Regions from separate parts of the Homo sapiens genome. Here regions 1 and 2 are each linked to region 3. The links are contacts of gene promoters, found by promoter capture Hi-C in blood cells and fetal thymus (Javierre and others, 2016). All regions are on one chromosome and are shown on one strand. The core of a region is centred on a gene start or on the middle of the fragment in contact, and the rest is flanking DNA. Distances in the headings are between cores, read along the strand shown. Region 1 overlaps RNF157 (ring finger protein 157). Region 2 overlaps SRP68 (signal recognition particle 68). Region 3 holds the start of EXOC7 (exocyst complex component 7).

Region 1 (2,700 bases), core at 179-2,678, 120 kb before region 3:
ACCTTACGATCCTCCTGGAGAGAAGATGGTAGCAGCAAAAGTAAAGGGTGAGAAACTGGATAAGAAGCTGAAAAAAATGGAGCAAAACAAGACAGCAGCCACTAGGTACCGCCAGAAGAAGAGGGCGGAGCAGGAGGCTCTCACTGGCGAGTGCAAAGAGCTGGAAAAGAAGAACGAGGCTCTAAAAGAGAGGGCAGATTCCCTGGCCAAGGAGATCCAGTACCTGAAAGATTTGATAGAAGAGGTCCGCAAGGCAAGGGGGAAGAAAAGGGTCCCCTAGTTGAGGGTAGGTCAGGAGTGTCAACGTGCTTGTACATAGAGTGTCTGCTGTAGCTGTGTGTTCCAATAAATTATTTTGTAGGGAAAAAAATACATATTATTTGGCCACTAAAAACAATGAGGTCATGCCATAAATACAGACATAGATGCCTACAGTATATTAGGTGAAAGCAACTTGCAGATCAATATGTGCATTCAATTATGCAGACAATATGTGCATTCAAATAGTCCATTCAATTAAAAAAAATAATAGAACAGGAAGACCTGGACATATTTGTATATGTATAAAAAAATCTGGAAGGCCACACCCAATTGTGAATAGTGGAGTTACTTCTTATGGAGTAGGGTTAAATTTTAAATTATTAACTTATATATACTAATTTTTTTGGCAAAGGACATGTATTGTGTATTTCTATTTCTTTTTCTTTTTGTGGAGATGGAGTCTTGCTATGTTGCCCAGGCTGGTTTGAACTCCTGGGCTCAAGTGATCCTCCCACCTCAGCCTCCCAAAGTGCTGGGATTACAGTTGTGAGCCATTGCACCTAACATGTAATATTTTTGTTTTTATTTTTATATTTTTGAGATGGAGGCTCACTCTGTTGCCTAGGCTGGAGTGCAGTAGTGCAATCTTGGCTCACTGCAGCCTCTGCCTCCCAGGTTCAAGCGATTCTTCTGCCTCAGCCTCCCAAGTAGCTGGGATTACAGATGCCCGCCACCATACCCGGCTAATTTTTGTGTTTTTGGTAGAGACAGGGTTTCACCATGTTGGCCAGGTTGGTCTCGAACTCCTGACCTCAAGTGATCTGCCCACCTTGGCCTCCCAAAGTGCTGGGATTACAGGCATGAGCCACTGCTCCCAGCCCTAATTTTTTAAATAATTAAAAATATGCTCTAGGGCAAGTTTGTACAACCCACGCCCCATGGGCTGGGCTACATGTGGCCCAGGATGGCTTTGAATGCAGCGCAACACAAATTAGTAAACTTTCTTAAAACATTATGAGTTTTTTTGCAGTTTCTTTCTTTTTTTTTTTTAAAGCTTATCAGCTATCAGTAGTGTTAGTGTATTTCAAGTGTGGCGTAAGACCATTCTTCTTTTTCCAGTGTGGCCAAGGGAAGTCAAAAGATTAGGCACCCTTGCTCTAGGGGGAAAACTTAAAAATGAAGAACAAAAGCAGCACTGTAGCATTATAGAATTGAGCTGAATATTTAGAGGTGTTTGCAGTTTTCTAGTTTTCTTCTTATTTTTGTGATCTAAAGCTTATTGTTATTGAAATGTCATGTAGATGAAGATTTTTTCAAATATATGAAAATTTACTAGGATTCCCATAGCCTATAGATTCCCATAGAATTGTAGAAGAATAGAAAATGGGTTTAATTGTCCTTTATTATATGTTGTTATAATTCATAGTGGTTTGCTAACAAATGTCACAATATCTTATTGAGGCAGACATAATTTAGGGAACCCATTGCTCAATATTTAATTTCACTGTGGTATTAGGAATATGTCCCAAAAACTTAAATTCAAAATGATTAGGCAAATTATTTAATACAATGAATTTTAAATGAGATTTTTCTTTTTTGTTCACATTATAAGGAACAAATAGTTGATTTTCCTTTGTTGAAGTCAATTTATTGATTTTGGGCTTTCGCTTCAAAAATTGCCATTGATAGGGTAGGGCTCCCTCAGTGTAATGCAAGTTCCCTTTGCATTGCCCTGAGTTCTTGTAGAGCCAGAAAGTGCTGATAGTGACTAAGATAAAGTCAGATGTTAAGGAGTAGTGTCTGGAGCTGCTCTGGCCAGTGTGGGCCTTGCCCTGTGTTATTATACTTACTTCTTTCTGATGGTGCTCTGCAAAGTTGTATATGAATTGTGTATGTGTTGAAAACACTGCATGTTCTAACATTTTTTACTGAGGTTCAGAGTTATTTTGCTTTTGTTTCCAAAAATATAAAGTTGGGCAGTGCAGTCTGTTTGGTTTTTTGTTTCATTATATTCCATATTTTATTCTGAACAGGGAGGCTGTACGTTGAACTTAGTGGTTCTTCCACTAGATATGTAAAACACAATATTTAACGTTTATGTGGAAAACAAAATGTTTTTGAGACTAAGGGGTTTGATTTACAATTCCTGTTTGTCAGAAAGAAAAAAATTTGGGTTTTATATGGTTAAGCATTTTATCATCAATTCATTATCCCTCTTTCTTTTTTCCTATTACAGTACAGGAAAAGGAAGAGTCAGGTATTGTTTATGTGTAAAGAACCTTGGCCGAGCATGGTGGCCCATGCCTGTAATCCCAGCACTTTGGGAGGCCGAGGCGGATGGATCACCTGAGGTCAGGAGTTCGAGACCAGTCTGGCCAACATGGTGAAACCCCGTCTCTACTAAAAATACAAAAATTAGCCAGGTTTGGTGGCACATGC
Region 2 (2,700 bases), core at 1-2,500, 65 kb after region 3:
TTAGTAACAAACTAGGAATGCATGCTCATTATAGAGCAGTGGACCCTAAATTTCTAAGGAAACCCCCCACCTCCCTCCCTTCTCTTACCCAACCTCAAAGCTTCTTGCATAAAGCTTCCTAGATGTCAGATCATCCCTGGGAAGAGGGTTGAGGAACCTGTTGCTGTAAAGAGTAGCACCCGTGGGTAAGAGCTCTAACTCGTAACATGGCCAACAGGCCTGCACCCCAGTCCTAGCCTGCCACTCTCTTAGCCTCTCTGGGTTTCAGTGACTTTGACTACAAGGCAGGGATGTGGTAGCCCCTCCTCGTAGGAGGCTGTCGGGATTGAGTGATTGAGTGAGATGGCCCCTGTAAAGCTCTGAACCAGGCAGTCGGCACTCAGGAATGTTCACCAAGGGTGTTCTGTGACCGATGCTACATACGTCTCTTTGATTTGACTTCCAGCCTCTGGTTGAACGGTTTGAGACATTCTGCCTGGACCCTTCCCTTGTCACCAAGCAAGCCAACCTTGTGCACTTCCCACCAGGCTTCCAGCCCATTCCCTGCAAGCCTTTGTTCTTTGACCTGGCCCTCAACCATGTGGCTTTCCCACCCCTTGAGGACAAGTTGGAACAGAAGACCAAGAGTGGCCTCACTGGATACATCAAGGGCATCTTTGGATTCAGGAGCTAACCAGGCTCTTCCTCGGGGGCGGGGGAGATTCTGACTCTTAATCTGTATTGTGAGAAAATCCCAGCAAGTTCCATGATATTAAATCCAGGTCTGCATTGGCCCGGGGCAAGAGTTTAACATCTTCGGCCCTGCATTCCTACATCTTGTGTCTGTACACGTTCTTAAGCAGCGTGTCAGGAGAGCACCCTGTTGTCTTCTGGTAAATGTGTGCAGGGTCATCCTGTCTCCTGTACCTCCTGGGAAAGGGGCCGCTGCTGTCTGGTGCCCTGTGAGCTGTGATTGATTGCCTTTGGTCAGTAATGCGTTCAGGAGTCCACACCAGGCACAGATGGGGCCTTGAAACGCTTTGTCATGCTTCTTCAGTACCATGGATTTGAAATGAACTCATCCTTGCTGTGAGCATCCAGGAGCCCTTGAGAAGTTTATCTATGACTATGAAACTGGCAACGTCACCCCAGAATTACGGTCAGCCTTATTCCCCTTCACCTCCCAGTGAACGCTAAGAAGTTTCAGACAAGCAGAGAGCTCTATTTTTAGAAGAAATATGTTACACTCAGAAATGATGAAACCAAATCTTATATTAAAAGGCAAAGATGACGGAGACTGTGCCCATTTCTTATATGCCCTCCCTCATGTCCAGTCCCCGTTCTCTCCTCGGGAGCCTAGTTGCGTGAAGCCGGTGAGGTCAAGTGTAACCTGACTTACCGGCAACTAGGTGAGGCTGATGCCAGATACACATGTTAGAGGCACTATTTTTCAGGACTTCCCAATGTGTAATTTTTAGATGCCATTATATTTTAATCCCCTTCGTTACCCCCCGTTTTTCCTTAGTCATCCCTTTTCACTTCTATTATAACATCAATAATAGAAGTCACAAAAACAATGTAAGAAAGCAAGGAATAAAAGTGATTTAAACATGTACCTGACACTTAACGATTCCCTTTGGAAATCAAAACTCATCTGTCACATAGGAAAGAAAATTCGTCACAAGAAATGTTGGCTTAGATGTTTTCCGTTTTTGAGCAAACCCAGTGGCTTGAAGAAAAGGCTGACTGGTTAAAAATCCAAGAGCATTGTTTCAGGATGGCATTGTAACCCCCCGAGGGTTCTTGCCCGCTGCCCAGATGGAGTTGATTCATGGAAACAGGAATTGCAATAGAGAGTTTAGTTCACACACAGCCGTCTAAACAGGAGACTGGAGTTTATTACTCACATTGGTCTCCCTGAAAATTCAGAGACTGGGAATTTTAAGGATAATTTGGTGGGTAGGGGGTCAGGAAATGGGGAGTGCTGATTGGTCAGGTTGGAGATGAAGTCATAGGGAGTTGGAGATGAAGTCAGGGAGTTGGAGATGAAGTCATAGGGAGTTGAAGCTGGCCTCTTGTGCTGAGTCGGTTTCCTGGGTGGGGGCTACAAGACCAGATGAGCCAGTTTGGATGGATGGTGCCAGCTGATCCATAAAGTGCAGGGTCTGAAAAATATCTCGAGCACCATTCTTAGGTTTTACAACAGTGATGTCATCCCTAGGAGCAACTGGGAAGGTTCAGAATCTTGGGCCTCTGGCTGCATGACTCCTAAACCATAATTTCAATTTTTGTGGCTAATTCGTTAGTCCTACAAAGGCAGTCTGGGCCCCAGGCAAGAAGGGGGTTTATTTCCGGAAAGTGCTGTTACCATCTTTGTTTCAAAGTTAAACAGTAAACTGTAAGCTTCTCCCAAAGTGAGTTCGGCTTATTCCCAGGAATGAACAAGGACAGCTTGGAGGTTAGAAGCAAGATGGAGTGGGTTAGGCTAGACCTTTTTCACTCTAATAATCTCACCGTTAGAATTTTTGTAAAGGTGGTTTTAGAATGCCACTGTGGGCTTGGCTGTGCCTTTTGTTTTCCCAGTAAGTTGCAGGGAGGGAAGGCTATAAGAGCTAGAAAGGATGGTGAGACACAAATCAGGCTTCTTGTTAGAATTGTGTTGTGGCTTAGAACCTTGAGATGCTCGCAGAGAGGCCCTGATCCCCCGGGGTTTGTTTTGGG
Region 3 (2,700 bases), core at 174-2,673:
CCTGAGCCCAAAACACCCTCTCTACAGCGGCTAACTAGCCCCGCTACTCTATTCTGTGACATCTAACAGTTTAAACTTTCTCCTACTTAGCCCTTTGGACTACACAAGGACCATGTCAGCGAAATCATCCTGGGTATTTCCTGACACAGGAATCAGCCTTTTATCTCCCCCACCTACAACAGGATTGAAATTGTCCTCTTGCCTGAGGGAAGGCTGCCCATCCCTCTCCAGGCTCTGTGCACCCACTTCCTCCTCCTCCTCCTCTTCGGGTGACTATGGGTGGAGTGAGCGCTTGGGAACCCTAGAGCTTGGGTTCTTCCTTCTCTCCTTCTCTCCTTAGGCCGGGAGCAGGGGCTCACGCCTGTAATCTCAGGACTTTGGAAGGCCAAGGCGGGTGGATCACTTGAGGTCAGGAGTTCGAGACTAGCCTGGGCAACATGGCGAAACCCTGTCTCTACTAATAATACAAAAAAATTAGCCGGGCGTGTTGGCAGCCGCCTGTAATCCCAGCTACTCGGGACGCTGAGGCACGAGAATCACTTGAACCCGGGAGGCAGAGACTGCAATGAGCCAAGATCGTGCCACTTGCACTCCAGCCTGGGCGACAGAGTGAGACTCTCTCTCAAAAGAAAAGAAAGGAAAAAAAAAGCTTGGTGTCCCCCCTGCCCGCCCCAAACCTTCTCATCTACCAGCACATGCCTCCTTGTCTATCTTCCGGGTGTCTGGACACTGAGGCCACAGAAGGACTGAACCAAGCTGGTCGGCCTTGTCCTTTCTCAAGGCTGGGGGCCAGAGGCAGGGTGGGCAGGGACGGGTTAGAGGAAGGAGTAACTCGAGGTTTTGCAGGAGCTGGGTCTGCAACCACAACATCCAGCCCCGCAGGGAAGTTGATCCAGGGGCGCCCCCCACCCCGTCCCCTGGAGCTGCAGTTGGACGCTGGGTCTGGGCCTGGAGCTCCGGAGCAGCCCCGCCAGCCCACAGGATACGTTTTTGCGTAATGCAGGGTGGAAGGCGGAAACAAGTACACAAGCCCCTGGTTCATTACATGGACACACGTTAGGCATCTACTGTGTCACCTGCTCCGTGCGGGGCTTTGTGGGAAACGCAATTGGCCTTGGTGCCTGCCCATAGAATGCGACCTGGGGAAAGGAATTCGTCGCCTTCCCCAGCAGTCTTTATCAAAAGGGTCGGTCTTTCAACGAAAACAGCAAGTGAGCTCTAAGTGTCCTGCCAGCCGCGGGACATAAGGCCGATCGAAAACCTCTGCTGAGGCAAGGAACCCGCGTCGAGGTCCCTTGCAGCATCCGAATACACTTCTCTTCCCAGCCACGCTCAAAATGGCCGTCGGTCCGTTCTTGGGCTCCGCGCAGGCGCACTTCAGCCTGCGATTCCCAACATGGCTCCGCCCAGGCGTCCCGGGGCGGGACCAAGAGCGGAAGTGGGTGTGACGGGGACGGGGGCCCGGTGGGCCCGCGGAGGAAAGATACTGGGGAGTGGGAGCCGCGGGGTTCAGAGCGATGATTCCCCCACAGGAGGCATCCGCTCGACGGCGGGAGATTGAGGACAAGCTGAAGCAGGTGGGCGTGGGCCTGGGGAGGCTGGGGAGGAGGTGAGGGAAAGGGGCCAACAGCGGGGCCTGATTGTCTACTCATGGAGGAGGCAGGGGTGGGAGGGAGCGCACCCAGCGAGGAGATGGGGTTGGGGGCTAGGCCGTGGGGTTGGGACGCAGTGGTCTCCTTTAGCTTCTGGTTTCTGGTGATGTCCTCCCCTTGCCTGCCCCCAGGAGGAGGAGACTCTGTCCTTCATCCGAGACAGCCTGGAGAAGAGCGACCAGCTCACTAAGAACATGGTGAGTCTCCCCGCAGCTGGGGGAGAGGGCAGGCCTCCGGACCCTGGGGGAGAGCCTTGCGACCTGGCGGTTCCGGTTCCTGCGGCCTGGAGTTCTGGAATGGGCAGCGACGGAGGCAGTGTGTGGGTTTATCTAGCAACAGTTTGGCATCTCTCCTGCCTAGCCCCCTCCCCATGTTCCGTACCCTCACTGAGGAGGCTGCACTTCCCACTGGCCTGGACTTGCTGCTTTCTGTCTAAGCTCGCCATTCTTCCTTCTCTCCTTCTGCAAACACTCAGTGAGTCTGACCAGTTGGGCTAGGTACTGGGCATATGTCATTGTCAGTGGACTCTCTGCCCAGGAGGTTGGCACTTTGAGATTCCTGAGGGCAGAGAAGACTCAGCCTTCACTCCAGAGGACTTTAGGGAAAGAAAGAGCTCTAAAGTCAGGCAGATCTGGGATCTAGTCCTTGCCCTTCTGCTTAAATGTGCGGCTCCTGATAGGTAACTGGTGTCAGCGAATTCATCTGCTAAAACAGAGACTGTGCCAGCCTCCCAGTGTGTCTGTGAAGGTCATATGCGCTAATGCATGCGACTGCATCTTGCACAGTGCCTGGTATACAATAGGTGCTCAATAAGTGAGTTTCCTTCTTTATTCCTAGGGGAGACTGGAAAAGCACAAAGTGAGTAAATACAAACTTGTATTTGCATTTAGTCACACAATAATAAAGTCCTAGTCCTTTTCTAAAAATTTTAATTTTTAAATTTTTTTTTTTAGAGGCAGAGTCTGGCTGTGTTGTGCAGGCTAGAGTGCAGTGGCATGACTGTAGCTCACTGCAGTCTCTAACTCCTGGGCTCAGGCAGTCCTCCTGC

What was found. The method cuts DNA at HindIII sites, captures the fragments that hold promoters and counts their contacts. A CHiCAGO score of 5 or more calls a contact.
Region 1: a contact is called between a fragment that was not itself captured here and the fragment with the promoter of EXOC7 in region 3, in 3 of 17 cell types (M1 macrophages, endothelial precursors and megakaryocytes). The highest score is 6.4, in M1 macrophages.
Region 2: a contact is called between a fragment that was not itself captured here and the fragment with the promoter of EXOC7 in region 3, in 1 of 17 cell types (endothelial precursors). The highest score is 5.2, in endothelial precursors.

What each region holds. Positions count from the first base shown.
Region 1 is chr17:76,223,331-76,226,030 of GRCh38, reverse strand. The region is part of intron 1 of RNF157 (ring finger protein 157); the gene reads left to right. It also overlaps the pseudogene ATF4P3. Among named protein-coding and RNA genes, the nearest start is that of RNF157, 16 kb to the left of the region's middle. The HindIII fragment of the contact is 221 bases long and covers 1,318-1,538 here.
Region 2 is chr17:76,037,679-76,040,378 of GRCh38, reverse strand. SRP68 (signal recognition particle 68) reads left to right here. Exons shown (of 16, transcript NM_014230.4): 16 at 446-1,594. The coding sequence ends at 673. Among named protein-coding and RNA genes, the nearest start is that of EVPL, 12 kb to the right of the region's middle. RefSeq lists an enhancer at 1-221. The HindIII fragment of the contact is 2,268 bases long and covers 117-2,384 here.
Region 3 is chr17:76,102,510-76,105,209 of GRCh38, reverse strand. It overlaps EXOC7 (exocyst complex component 7), which reads left to right and starts at 1,423. Exons shown (of 19, transcript NM_001013839.4): 1 at 1,423-1,577; 2 at 1,784-1,849. The coding sequence starts at 1,518. The HindIII fragment of the contact is 3,319 bases long and covers 652-2,700 here.